Linked DNA regions of Homo sapiens: regions 2 and 3 are each linked to region 1. Evidence: promoter capture Hi-C in human tissues and cell types (Jung and others, 2019). All regions are on one chromosome and are shown on one strand. The core of a region is centred on a gene start or on the middle of the fragment in contact, and the rest is flanking DNA. Distances in the headings are between cores, read along the strand shown.

Evidence for each region. Contacts are between HindIII fragments. The study calls those that stand out against the background at their distance.
Region 2: a fragment that was not itself captured here is called in contact with the fragment with the promoter of TXNL4B in region 1 in 1 of the 25 tissues and cell types used here (lymphoblastoid cells).
Region 3: a contact is called between a fragment that was not itself captured here and the fragment with the promoter of TXNL4B in region 1, in 1 of the 25 tissues and cell types used here (lymphoblastoid cells).

The regions. Positions count from the first base shown.
Region 1 is chr16:72,091,962-72,095,612 of GRCh38, reverse strand. TXNL4B (thioredoxin like 4B) reads left to right here and starts at 1,993. Exons shown (of 4, transcript NM_017853.3): 1 at 1,993-2,246. DHX38 (DEAH-box helicase 38) reads right to left here and starts at 1,766. Exons shown (of 27, transcript NM_014003.4): 1 at 1,562-1,766. RefSeq lists enhancers at 1,471-1,770, 1,831-1,880, 1,891-2,220. The HindIII fragment of the contact is 10,781 bases long and covers 1-2,625 here.
Region 2 is chr16:70,738,065-70,741,894 of GRCh38, reverse strand. All of the region lies in intron 13 of VAC14 (VAC14 component of PIKFYVE complex), which reads left to right. Among named protein-coding and RNA genes, the nearest start is that of VAC14-AS1, 15 kb to the left of the region's middle. RefSeq lists enhancers at 781-1,588, 3,341-3,510, 3,412-3,830. The HindIII fragment of the contact is 3,664 bases long and covers 427-3,830 here.
Region 3 is chr16:73,861,874-73,865,705 of GRCh38, reverse strand. It overlaps a transcript of ZFHX3 not described here. Among named protein-coding and RNA genes, the nearest start is that of PSMD7-DT, 350 kb to the left of the region's middle. The HindIII fragment of the contact is 5,304 bases long and covers 1-3,832 here.

The sequences.
Region 1 (3,651 bases), core at 744-3,243:
AAAAAGTGTATGTGAAACCATAAAGAGTAGCTCTTTATGTAACCATAACAGTTAACATAAATGTAACTGCTACATTGTATTATTTGCTATCCTCCTATATACTGTTGGTCCCTCACCCATTTTTTTACATGAGTTCTACCTCTTCCTCTCTTTAAACAACAGGTACAGCAGCACAGAGATGGGGCAGAAGGCTACCGTCCATGTTCTCCATACTTTAGTGGCTTTTCTTGGCCTAGCTGCGTTTTACAGAAAACAATTTACTCACAGCAGCCAAAATCAGTTTAATAACAATCCATGTTCACCAAAAATATTTATGAGAAACACCAGGTTAGGAAAAGGTGTTACTGAGAAGTATTTAAGTGGCTACAAGACTTCTGGCACTCAAGTTGGAACAAGCTCCTCTTTACCTCTCACTACACATCTGCCACTCATCAACATATATCAGTTCTGGATGCTTGGATAATTCCTCTCATTCCAACAAGTTAGCAAAGCAAAGGAGATGCCACCAGAATCCAGAATTGTTTACCAAACTCTAATTAAATGCACAGCTCTACAGAGTATTGCCAAACAGACTGGACACATAATATTAATGCAGAAACAAGAGTTACATTTTGAAAATGCCATCAGGCAGAACAGAAAAAAAGAAAGCTGCATATTGGTGACATCTGTGCGCATGTGAGGAAATCCACACAAGAAGGTAAAGATATACAGGCTCTACTCAATAGTTGTCTAAACTAGGAAAGGTACCCTGGACTGCCATTCTACGCAGTTGAGAGAACACTGGATGTGTTGTTGACTGCTGTAGCTCAATGTCTAGCAAAATAAGCGTTTGATAAATTAAAAAATGAATTAATTTAAACTTATTAAAGGAGGACAGGAACCCAAACATTTCTGGAGACAGCAAGGGAAGATTCCAGCAACACAGGACAAGGAGACAGCCAGAGAGAACTTCATTAGCTGCTGAGACGAACAAATAAGGAGCTAAAGAGCAAGATTCTTGAGAAGGATTAATGGCAAAGAAACTACAAGGCGTACGAGAAAGCCAGGGAAGAAAGAACCTGGATTCATTCATTCAACAATTATTCACTGAGGGTGTCCCTGAGCCAATTGCTGTTCTCGGCGATAGCAACAGAGAACAAGACAAAAATCCCCGCCCACCTGGAGCTGACATTCTAGTAGAAGAGATCGCCCACCAGATTGCCTGGTATAAATGACACTGTGAGAGAGCAGAGGAAGACACAAGGAGTCCTACTCGGGCTCGGTGACAGTCTGGGGTGGGTTAAAGCGGAGGCCTGGGAGAGGGACCAAGGCCACTCCAGGCAGCATCCCTGGATCTCAGCGAGGCCGCTCCAGGCAGCAGGATTTGACCAGAGCAAGGAGGAAGGCCAAGGCGGCCAGGACGGATGCAGCATCCCTGAGGTGAGTAAGGCAAGGTGGGTGACAGGGACGACAGAGGAACTCCCCAAACTGGGGCCCGGACCTGAGCAGGGGACCAATATCCGCCGCCTAGAGCCGCCATGATTACAGAAGGGCAGGCCAGGAAGGAAGAAGGGACTCTCACCTCACCAAGCGCGACTCTTGGGACCCTTCTGTCCCGGATTCTGGGGCGCCGGCGCTGCCACCCCTCGCTCAGACAGGCTCAAGGAGCCAAAATCCACACCTTGAAAGCGGCCATTATTGTCCCTTAATACTTTGCGCGCCCCCTCTATCCGCCCAAAGCTACCATAGAGAGCAGCCTGGAACACGCCCGATTCCTGGATCCAAGTGTGGAACGGTACGCCAACAGGCTCTCAAGGCCTCCTCTGGGGCTCTGATCAGACACTTCCGAGTCTCCTTGTGACCAATCACTCTTAGCCTAAGAGACTACATCCCGCCTCTAGTCTGGGGGCAGGAAAAGGAGGGGAAAAAGGTCGACCATCTTTAATACGGGCGGAGGTGACGCCTAGCTTCCGGTCAGAGCCGAGCAAGGTGGGCGGTGACTAGAAGCTCTTCCGTTTATTGGGCTGTTGAGCGGGGGCCGACCGACGGCCAGGAGTTTCTTTTCTGCGCTTGTGCGTTTTCTGTTCGGTTTCCTTCCCGCTAGCGGGGCCACGAGGGTTGCTAGGCAACAGCCCCTGGGTGACTTGGTCTTAGGGTCCTGTCCGGCTTGGGGCTGATGAAAGGAGCTGTCCGCGCCCGGGCTCTTCCGAGAAGTGGTTGCTGACAGCCACAAAGTGAAAGGGAGTGAGGCGGCGTGGACGAGTAAGGTAAGTGCTGGGGTCCCTTAGCGCTTGTGGGCCAGGAGCAGCGCAACACAGGTGACTTTAAATATGTATATCGGATATTTTGGAAAATGGAGATGCGCGCCCGGCTGTAAATAAAAATCACCCATGCGTTCACACGCAGAGATGACCACTGATTTCCAGTTGTTTTTCTGGAATACATTGTAGTAAGATTCTGTACAAAAGTGAGTTCAAGCTTTTTTTCTTTTTTTGGTGTTTCTGCAGTTGTGGCGCGCGCCTGAGGTTCCAGCTACTCGGGAGGCTGAGGCGGGAGGATTGCTTGAGCCTGGGGAGTTGAGACCAGCCTGGGCAACATAGCGAAACCCCGCCTCAGAAAAAGAGAGGGAGAGAGGAAAGCAGTGGAGTTATTGGTCAAAGAGTATGTCAGTTTTCTTTCCAGAAAGGTTTTGTGTCTGCATTCCAGCAGGAACTCCCTGTGCCTGCCCCTACCACTATCTTGTTTAATTTTTGCCAATTCAGTGACTTTGTAAACATATGTTTTAATTTGCTTTTCTTTGCTTACTGGTAAAGCTTAACTTTTTAGTTTATTTACTGTCCATTTGTACGTCTTCTTTTGGGAATTCTCTGTGGGTATCATTTACTATGGACATTTTCTTAGATGTGGTCTCAGTTTTCCTCTCCTGCTTCCAACGTTTGTCCAGTTGCACCCCTAGCCTCACCACTAACAACTTTGTTCTCCCCTTACTTTCTCCTTTCGATCAGTAACACGGAGGAACTGCTGTTTGTTTGAATTCTAGTGGGACAGATCCGTCTTCTCTTTGACCTTCCCTTTCATTGGTAATTTGTTCTGCTGCTCACATCTGATGACGTCCCTTTGGGCCATCAATGTCCCTGTTTAAAGTATGACCTATAGCTGGAACAATCTTATTTCCTATGTGAATTTTAGTTAAATAATTCCTTTTTTTTTTTTTGGAGACGGAGCTTCGCTCTTGTTGCCTTGCCCAGGCTGGAGTGCAGTGGAGCGATCCTAGCTCACTGCAACCTCCGCCTCCAGGGTTCAAGCAATTCTCCTGCCTCAGCCTCCTGAGTAGCTTGGATTACAGGTGGCATCTGCCACCACGCCCGGCTAATTTTTTGTATTTTTAGTAGAGACGGGGTTTCACCATGTTGGCCAGGCTGGTCTCGAATTCCTGGCCATAGGTGATCCACCCTCCTTGGCCTCCCAAAGTGCTGGGATTACAGGGGTGAGCCTGGCCTAATTCGTATCTTAAAATGTGACTTGTGACAAAAAAAATAGGAAAAGAAATCCTCCCTTTTCATATTTGGAACTGAATTCAAAATACCGACCATCTCAATGGAGTCTCTTATAGATGACCACAAAACTAAGCTTCTTTGTCAAAGAGTTTCTCAAAAATGAAATTTCTACCAA
Region 2 (3,830 bases), core at 1,009-3,508, 1.4 Mb after region 1:
GCGGCAGGGCCAGGGGCACTATATGGCAGGGCACCCTGAACCCCAGCTCCTGGCCGTGCCAAGATAGGCAGGCCATGAACGAGGCTATGGCAGTAGAGACTCTTGCCCCAACTCACCGAGGCTGTCAGATTAGCTCACATCAGCCAGGGACTCCCTCGGAATTCATAGAAGAACGACAAAGCATGCCAGATGGGAAGAAACTCCATCCTGGAAAGAACACCAAGGAAGTGCCTGCAGCCAGTCACACTTCTTGCTTCAAGAATCCACAGCCAAGGAGCAGTGGGGGCTGCGGAAGGAGAATCCACAACTCTCTGGGCCAGGAGCTCTTAACCTGAGACTCACGTGTGGGCCTCAAGGCTCCAAGCAGATCCATGTGTGTGCACATGCGCGTGTCCACAGCTGGCATCAGATTTTACAAATGGGGCCATGATTTTAAAAGGTCAGCTTAAACCAGTAAGAGAACAGCCAGGGGAGCCAGAGTGTGCCCTGCTTCCCCGCCCCCCCACCTCCGCTGCCCCGGGAGGGCACGTGCCAGGCACTGAGGATGTGTGGGGTGGTGCTGAGGTCAGAAGGCATGCAGGAAGTGCACATTCATCCCTCCGCAAGCTGCTCCTTCCCAGACTGCTTCTCAGGCATGCAAGGGGCTCTTTCTGTCTGTTTCCATCTGGCCATGCACATGGACAAGGCTGTGAAGCCATACCCTCTTCCTGTTTGGATTCTGCCTGCCTCTGGCTCTCCAGGGCGCAGCCCTGAGAACTTGGAGAACTTGGAGGCAGCAGTGCTGTGTCCCTGTAGGGGAGATTGCCCCGAAGGCACAAAGGGACTGTCTGGAAAGCCTCGGAGGCAGGGAGCCTAGCAAAGGTGAAGTCGGTGGCATCTGTAGGGAACCACATGGTGCGGATCACACGCAGCAGTGGAGAAGCGAGTCCATCACATGCCTGGGTAGCTGCCGTGTTGGCCTAATGCACCACAGCCATGGTTCCCAGGGCCCCCCGAGGCAGAGTCGCCCACATGGGATTTTCCTCTCGCCTGGCCTTGCATAAACATCTCTCCCTCCCTCGCAGAGCGGTGAAGGCAGAGGCTTCTCCCACCCTGCCTCCCTCATTCCTCACCTGTGCAGAGCCGCAGAATCGGGGAGAGAGTGGCCTGGGGGCAAACAGGATGGGGAGCAGCCTGGGCGGGCAGCTGTGAGGGAAGCTGGCTGAGGGACACCACACTTTCCTGTCTCCCACCCCTGGGATCTCCTGTGTCTCCTCCTTTTGTATTTCCTGTCTCCACTCAGGGGAGTCTGCGGAGGTCCTGCTGGCTCTGGGGACAGGGATGTCAGACAGGCCTGTGGGCCCGCCGTACCCTGAGCCTGTGCAAAAAACTTCAAAGGACAGAGGAGGCCTCTGGGATGAGCCCTTTGTCAGAGACATGCCTTTCCTCCCGGGGCCTGGACATCTATGCTGCCAGAGAGGGTGCAGCCAGGCCTGGGGAGACCCAATCAGCCTTTAGGATCCTTAGCCATGCACAGTAATGTGTCAGTCTGAGGCCAAAGGTCACCCTAGGACTGACGTTTGCCCCTAAAACCCAGTCTTCCCTGACTTTGCCTGCCACGGGGCCCAATGCTGCTGGGATAAAACTGTTCATGTCGTAAGCCACGTTGGCTCACTCCTATAGTCCCAGCACTTTGGGAGGCTGAGGCAGATGGATCACCTGAGGTCAGGAGTTTGAGACCAGCCTGGCCAGCATGGTGAAACCCTGTCTCTACTGAAAATACAAAATTTAGCTGGGCGTAGTGGTGCGTGCCTGTAATCCCAGCTACTCGGCAGGCTGAGGCAGGAGAATCGCTTGAACCCAGCAGGTGGAGGTTGCAGAGAGCCGAGATCACACCACTGCACACTAGCCTGGGCAACAGAGCGAGACTACATCTCAAAAAAAATAAAACAAAAAAACTGTTCATGTCAGTATACCTTGCGGGGCTCAGTGGTCCAAGGTGTTTTTATCCCTGGCTCTAAAAATGGGTGATAATGACCTGTTCTTATTTGGTTTCATTCCTTGTAGCCCAGGACAGTGTATTGTAGCCAAATGTCAGCAGCATCTTCATGTCACCAGACAGAAACAAGTTCTAGCAGAAAGCCAGAAAGCCATTTTCCCCAGTAATCACGGCAACAATCATCATGGCTGCCAGCACTGGCTGAGGTCACGTTAGGCCCTGCCCTGCTCTGAGCACTCACGCGTGCTGGCTTTTTGGGTGAGCCCCTGGGGTCCTCACAGCAGCTCTGAGAGGCCAGCACTGTGTCATTCCCCACTTGTTTGGGCCAGGAGCCTGGCCCGAGAGCCCACACTCCTCACCCCACTCAGGAATCCCACCTGCGCCAGCACTGGAAGCTTCCACAGCCAGAGGGGAGGAGGAGAGGGGCCAGGCCATGGGCACAACCTGGCAGTGATGGGGGCATCTCTCCTCTCTTCACAGTGACTTCAGAGACCCCTTCCTGGCCTCAGGCCACGGCAATGCCTCATTTCTTGTCATTTGCTGCCCGCCACCACTTCCTCCAGCCACACCAGCCCCAGGAAAGCACCTGTTTCTCTTGAAGCCCCTTCCTCCCACTCACCCCTCCCAGCCTCAGGAAGCAGCAGTAGGGATCACGAGCACTGGGGTCAGAGGGATCTAGATTCACAGCCCTGCTTTGCCCATCCATCCCGTGACCTCGGACAAGGGTCCTACCTCACTGCTACTTCTTCCCTCTCTATAAACCAGGTGCTGGGGTGCCTGGGGGCTCTGTGAGCTCCCACATGGCAAGGGCTAGGCTAAATGCTCCCTGCATGTGAAGGGGGCCTTTGCTTGTGTCCTAGTTATTACAGGCCGGTGCAGAGGGCCCCTGTGGGAGGCTTCCCTGGAGATCCCAGCTTCTCCTGCCCCTCTGTTCCAACACACTTGCTTATCTCAGGCTGCCTGGGTGGGTGGTGAAGTTCACATCTGTTCCCTCCTGGCTGTGACCTCTTAGACCCCCAGCTGGAAGTGCATGCGGAGGCTCCTCAGCGTCGCCCAGTGCTGGGTGATTTGTGTCATCAGCTCAGTTTGAATAGCGTCATGGCAGGCCACACAGGCCAAGTTTACTTACCCCGGAATCCCTGGCACCAGGTGCCCAGTAAGGGTCAGTACCTATTTTTGAAAGTTTATTAAAATAATGGAAGGCAGGGGCACCAATCACCTGAGCCTGAGGCCCCCGGCACTGCTGCCCAGAATGGCATCCTCTCATACCCGTGCTGCCAGGCCCTCCCTTGTCCAGTTGGAAGCCCCAGCAGTCCAGCCCCCCTGCTCCACCAGCAGGGGGTGCCTTCCTCCACACCCTCTCCTCGCTGCCTTTGGCCCCAGCCCTCACCCTGCAGCAATAGCTCTTTCCCGGTGGCAGACTGCTATATGACCTCTCCACTGCCGCGTCAGCTGGAAGTCCCCACTGGGCCCTGCTGCATCCCATCGGCTTCTCTCTCGCTCTGACCTGAGCAGCTGCAAAGTCTCCTGGCTATGATTGATGCCTCCGGCGCTCCTGTCCTGCCGACCCAGGCCGGCCCACAGATGAGAAAGTGATTGCCCCTTGAGTGGGTTCCCGAGTTGGTGCCATTGCGGCGGCCTTTGTCTACGTAGCTGTGCACCCCCTCCAGTTCTGCAGACTCTACACCCCCAAGACCCTGCTCAGCCTCCCTTTCTCCCAGCCACTTGATTCTTGGGGGAAACTGCCCCTTCCCCACCCTGTCCTCTTGGTTCCATACCAGCCTCTCCATCACCCACCCCTTCTGTGGACCACTTCCTGTGCCAAGCACGACTTGATGCTCTTTAGCCCTGC
Region 3 (3,832 bases), core at 84-2,583, 1.8 Mb before region 1:
GCCTGGCTGGCAGTAACATGTTTTAACAGATGACTGGATGCTTCTCTGAGTCACGGCAGTTCAGATTTACCCCAAATCAGGACCTGGAACATGGTGCCAATGGCCCAGAACTGGGAGTGAGTGGGAGGAAGAAAATAAACAAGGTGCAATTGTGTAATTGTGAACAAAGCCAAGAAACTATCTAGAATATAAGAGAGTTGGGAGGTTAGGGGATCTCAGTTCCAGGAAACTGGGGTATGAAGAGCTTCCCCAATGAACACATGGCGTGCAGGCTTCAGGGAGGTGCCTCATGCCCACCCCACACCGGCCCCAAACCCTTCCCATACATGTCTTCCAGTTTCTCTGATGTTACTGTCTTGGGGGCCTTAACATCTCTGCATGGCCTATTTGCATAGATTCCAGGCCTTTCATTTTTTTAACTTATTTTCAGATCCCAATTGCATCAGTTAGCATTTGCTGCATAAGAAACCCTCCCCAAACAACAATCATAAAGTTGCTCACAAATCTGTGGGTCAACAATTTTGGTGGGGTTCATCTAAGATGCTCACTTCTGGTATTGACTGTGATGACTCATTTTTCTGGGACCTCAGCTGTGACAGCTGTGATGCCCAGGTCTGTCTTTCATGTCATCTCTTGTGCATAAAGAAGCTAGCCTGGGCTTGTTGACATGATGTCAGAGATGTTCCAACAGCAGTAGAGAAGAAGCTGCAAAGTCCCTTAAGAACAAGGCTCAGAACTCACATCAGGTTACCTGTGTCAGATTGTATTGGTCAAAACAAGCTGTGAGGCCAGCCCATATTGAAGGGGTAAGGGAATTGTTGTCTCCTCTTACTGACAGGAGCTGCAATGAGTATGTGGCCATTTCCAGTTTATGACACCAATTCAAATATTACTTTATTGGGTATTGGGATGCCTAATGGCTCCCCTGCCAGGCTATGTCAAGTCCACCTATTTTATTTTCTTTATTATTGATTGATTGATTGATTGAGACAGAGTCTTGCTCTGTTGTCTGGGTGGGAGTGCAGTGGGGCGATCTTGGCTCACTGCAACCTCCACCCTCCTGGGTTCAAGCAATTTTCATGCCTCAACCTCCCAAGTAGCTGGGACTACAGGCGCCAGCCACGATGCCCAGCTAATTTTTGTATTTCCAGTAGAGACAGGGTTTCACCATGTTGTCCAGGCTGGTCTCGAGCTCCTGGCCTCAAGTGATCCTCCTCCCTCAGCCTCCCGAAGTGCTGGGATTACAGGCATAAGCCACTAGACCCAGCCTACATATTTTATTTTCCCCAAGTATTTTGTGAATGTTTGTTCCACTCTAACCTCTGTGTTTATCACGGTATCTTTGGCATTTAGCATAGTGCTTGTCACAGCGTAGTTAATGAATGTTCCTTCAGTGAATGAAGGATTGCTCTGAGGGCAAGTATATTAACGTTGACTACGTTAATAGGGAAGCCATTCTGGAGGAGGCTATAGAAATCAGACTTGGAAGCTGAAAGAAGACCCTTGTGCTGTGTTTGCTGAGATAAGTTATGTGTAAATTCATGAAGTCAGAACTGCAAGTTCTGGCAATGGATTGTAAACATGCCAATAATCTATTAGGCAGGTAGATAACACACACCAAAGAAGGACATTTTTTGGCAAGCTTAGATAAGGCAAATGCACAAGGTGAGATAACTTAAAAAGCCCTGGCTTTGTGACTTGAAGCTGGAATTACTATTCGTAAGTTTTGAGGAGAGGTGGGAGTGATGGGTACTTGTCTTGCTTGGAGAAAAGAGCGTGATCATTTTTCTATCTGAAAAATTTGACTATATGCATATTAAGCAGAATTCAGTAACTAGTAAAAAATTATGACTGTGAAAAGATGGATTAGAACATGTTTCATTTCGGCACTTATTCTTTCACAGAACATCTATTGAGCTCTTCCTGAATATGATATACAATACACTTCGCTAGATGCTTTGCAAGACATAAAGAAGGCATAAAAATTCCATGCATTATTAGGGTATAGTGGAACTCTAAGGTATATGCACACATGACCATCGTATGATATAGAAACTGATCTATGTTGGAATGAAGGCCATGTAAAATAACTTGAGAATGCAGAAGATGATCAGCAGAACTTAAGCAGATGGTCACCATCACCGTATGTCTTTTATTGCCTTTCGGATTTTTTTCTGAGACTGAAGACTGCCCTTCTATGTATTCTGCTCTGTGTGAAGACTATCTCCCTTTGGACACAAGGGTGGCTTTGGTTTATATAAGCCATCTCACAGTCTTAGGCAAAAGGAAGGGTGTTTCCTTTTGGCGTCCTGCTGTTCACACTCTTCAGTCCTGATCCCTTCTGGATCACCCTCCATCTGGGTCCACCTTCTGGGGCCATTGTTCATGATCCTACTCTTTATGCCCATTGCCTACCTATTAAAGCTTCACTTTCAATACCCCATTCCTCTAGGGACTGCTTCTACTAATTTATTTATTTATTTATTTATTTGTTTATTTTGAGACGGAGTCTCGCTCTGTCGCCCAGGCTGGAGTGCATTGGCACGATCTCCGCTCACTGCAACCTCCGCCTCCCGGGTTCAAGCCATTCTCCTGCTTCAGCCTCCTGAGTGTCTGGGATTACAGGCGCCTGCCACCACGCCCAGCTAATTTGTTGTATTTTTAGTAGAGAAGGGGTTTCAGTATGTTGGCCAGGCTGGTCTCCTGACCTTCTGATCCATGCACCTCAGCCTCCCAAAGTGCTGGGATTACAGGTGTGAGCCACCACTCCTGGCCATGCTTCTACTAATTAATCTGTTACAGTTGTATGAACCACGAATCTTCTGGAGATAACTTACTCTAAAGTTGTATGATGTGTAGGTATCACGTCAGGCTAACGGGTTGAGATTTTGTTATAGGTAACTTTCTTTACATTGATTGATTGATTGATTGTACAGGGTCTCACTCTGTCACCTGGGCTGGAGTGCAGTGGCGTGATCACAGCTCTCTACAGCCTCTTCCTCCTGGGCTCAAGTGATCCTCCCACCTCAGCCTCCCAAATAGCTGAGACAAACAGGCATGTGCCACCACACCTGGCTACTTTTAAAATTTTTTTGTGGAGATGGGGTCTTACTGTGTTGCCTAGTGTGGTCTTGAACTCCTGGGCTCAAGGGATCCTCCTGCCTCAGCCTCTCAAAATGTTGGGATTATAGACGTGAGTCACAGCAACCGTCCTCGTCACATCTTTCTATACTTCTTTGGTCTGGCTAATTAGGATGGAATTACAAGCATTGGAGGTGACAGAGAAGAAGTTAACATACATAGATTTTTACTATGTGTCAAGCATGTAACCAAGAACTTTCCAATATGTAGTTGATGGGGTTCTTAGTTACCAAAAACAGAATTCACTTTTGGTAGTTGAAACCAAAGGGGACTTATTAAAGGATATGGTAGCTCCTATAATCAGTGAGAAGCCCAAGTTGGGCTTCCAGGACGGAACCTAGAAACATACCCCAGAGTAGACCAGCCATGGGAGCTGCAGCCTTTACTGTGATCAGAAAGCTGGTGCCATGGCTACTGGTTTCAGAACTATGTGGTACCTAGTGATCTGGGCCCACAAAATGAATGCTCAGCACTTGGTCTCTCCCTAAACAAACTAAAGAATCTAAATTACAGGGGCAGCTAGGAAATGTAACTTAGATTCTTCCTTGGGAAGGTGGGTAGTTAACTATAGATAACTTTCAAAATGTGGAAAGGAGCTTCCAGAGATTTTGAGATGTGACGACTGCAGAAGTCCTCTCGACAAAACAAATGACACATTTTGAATATTTTACTTCCATATGAATGATTTCTT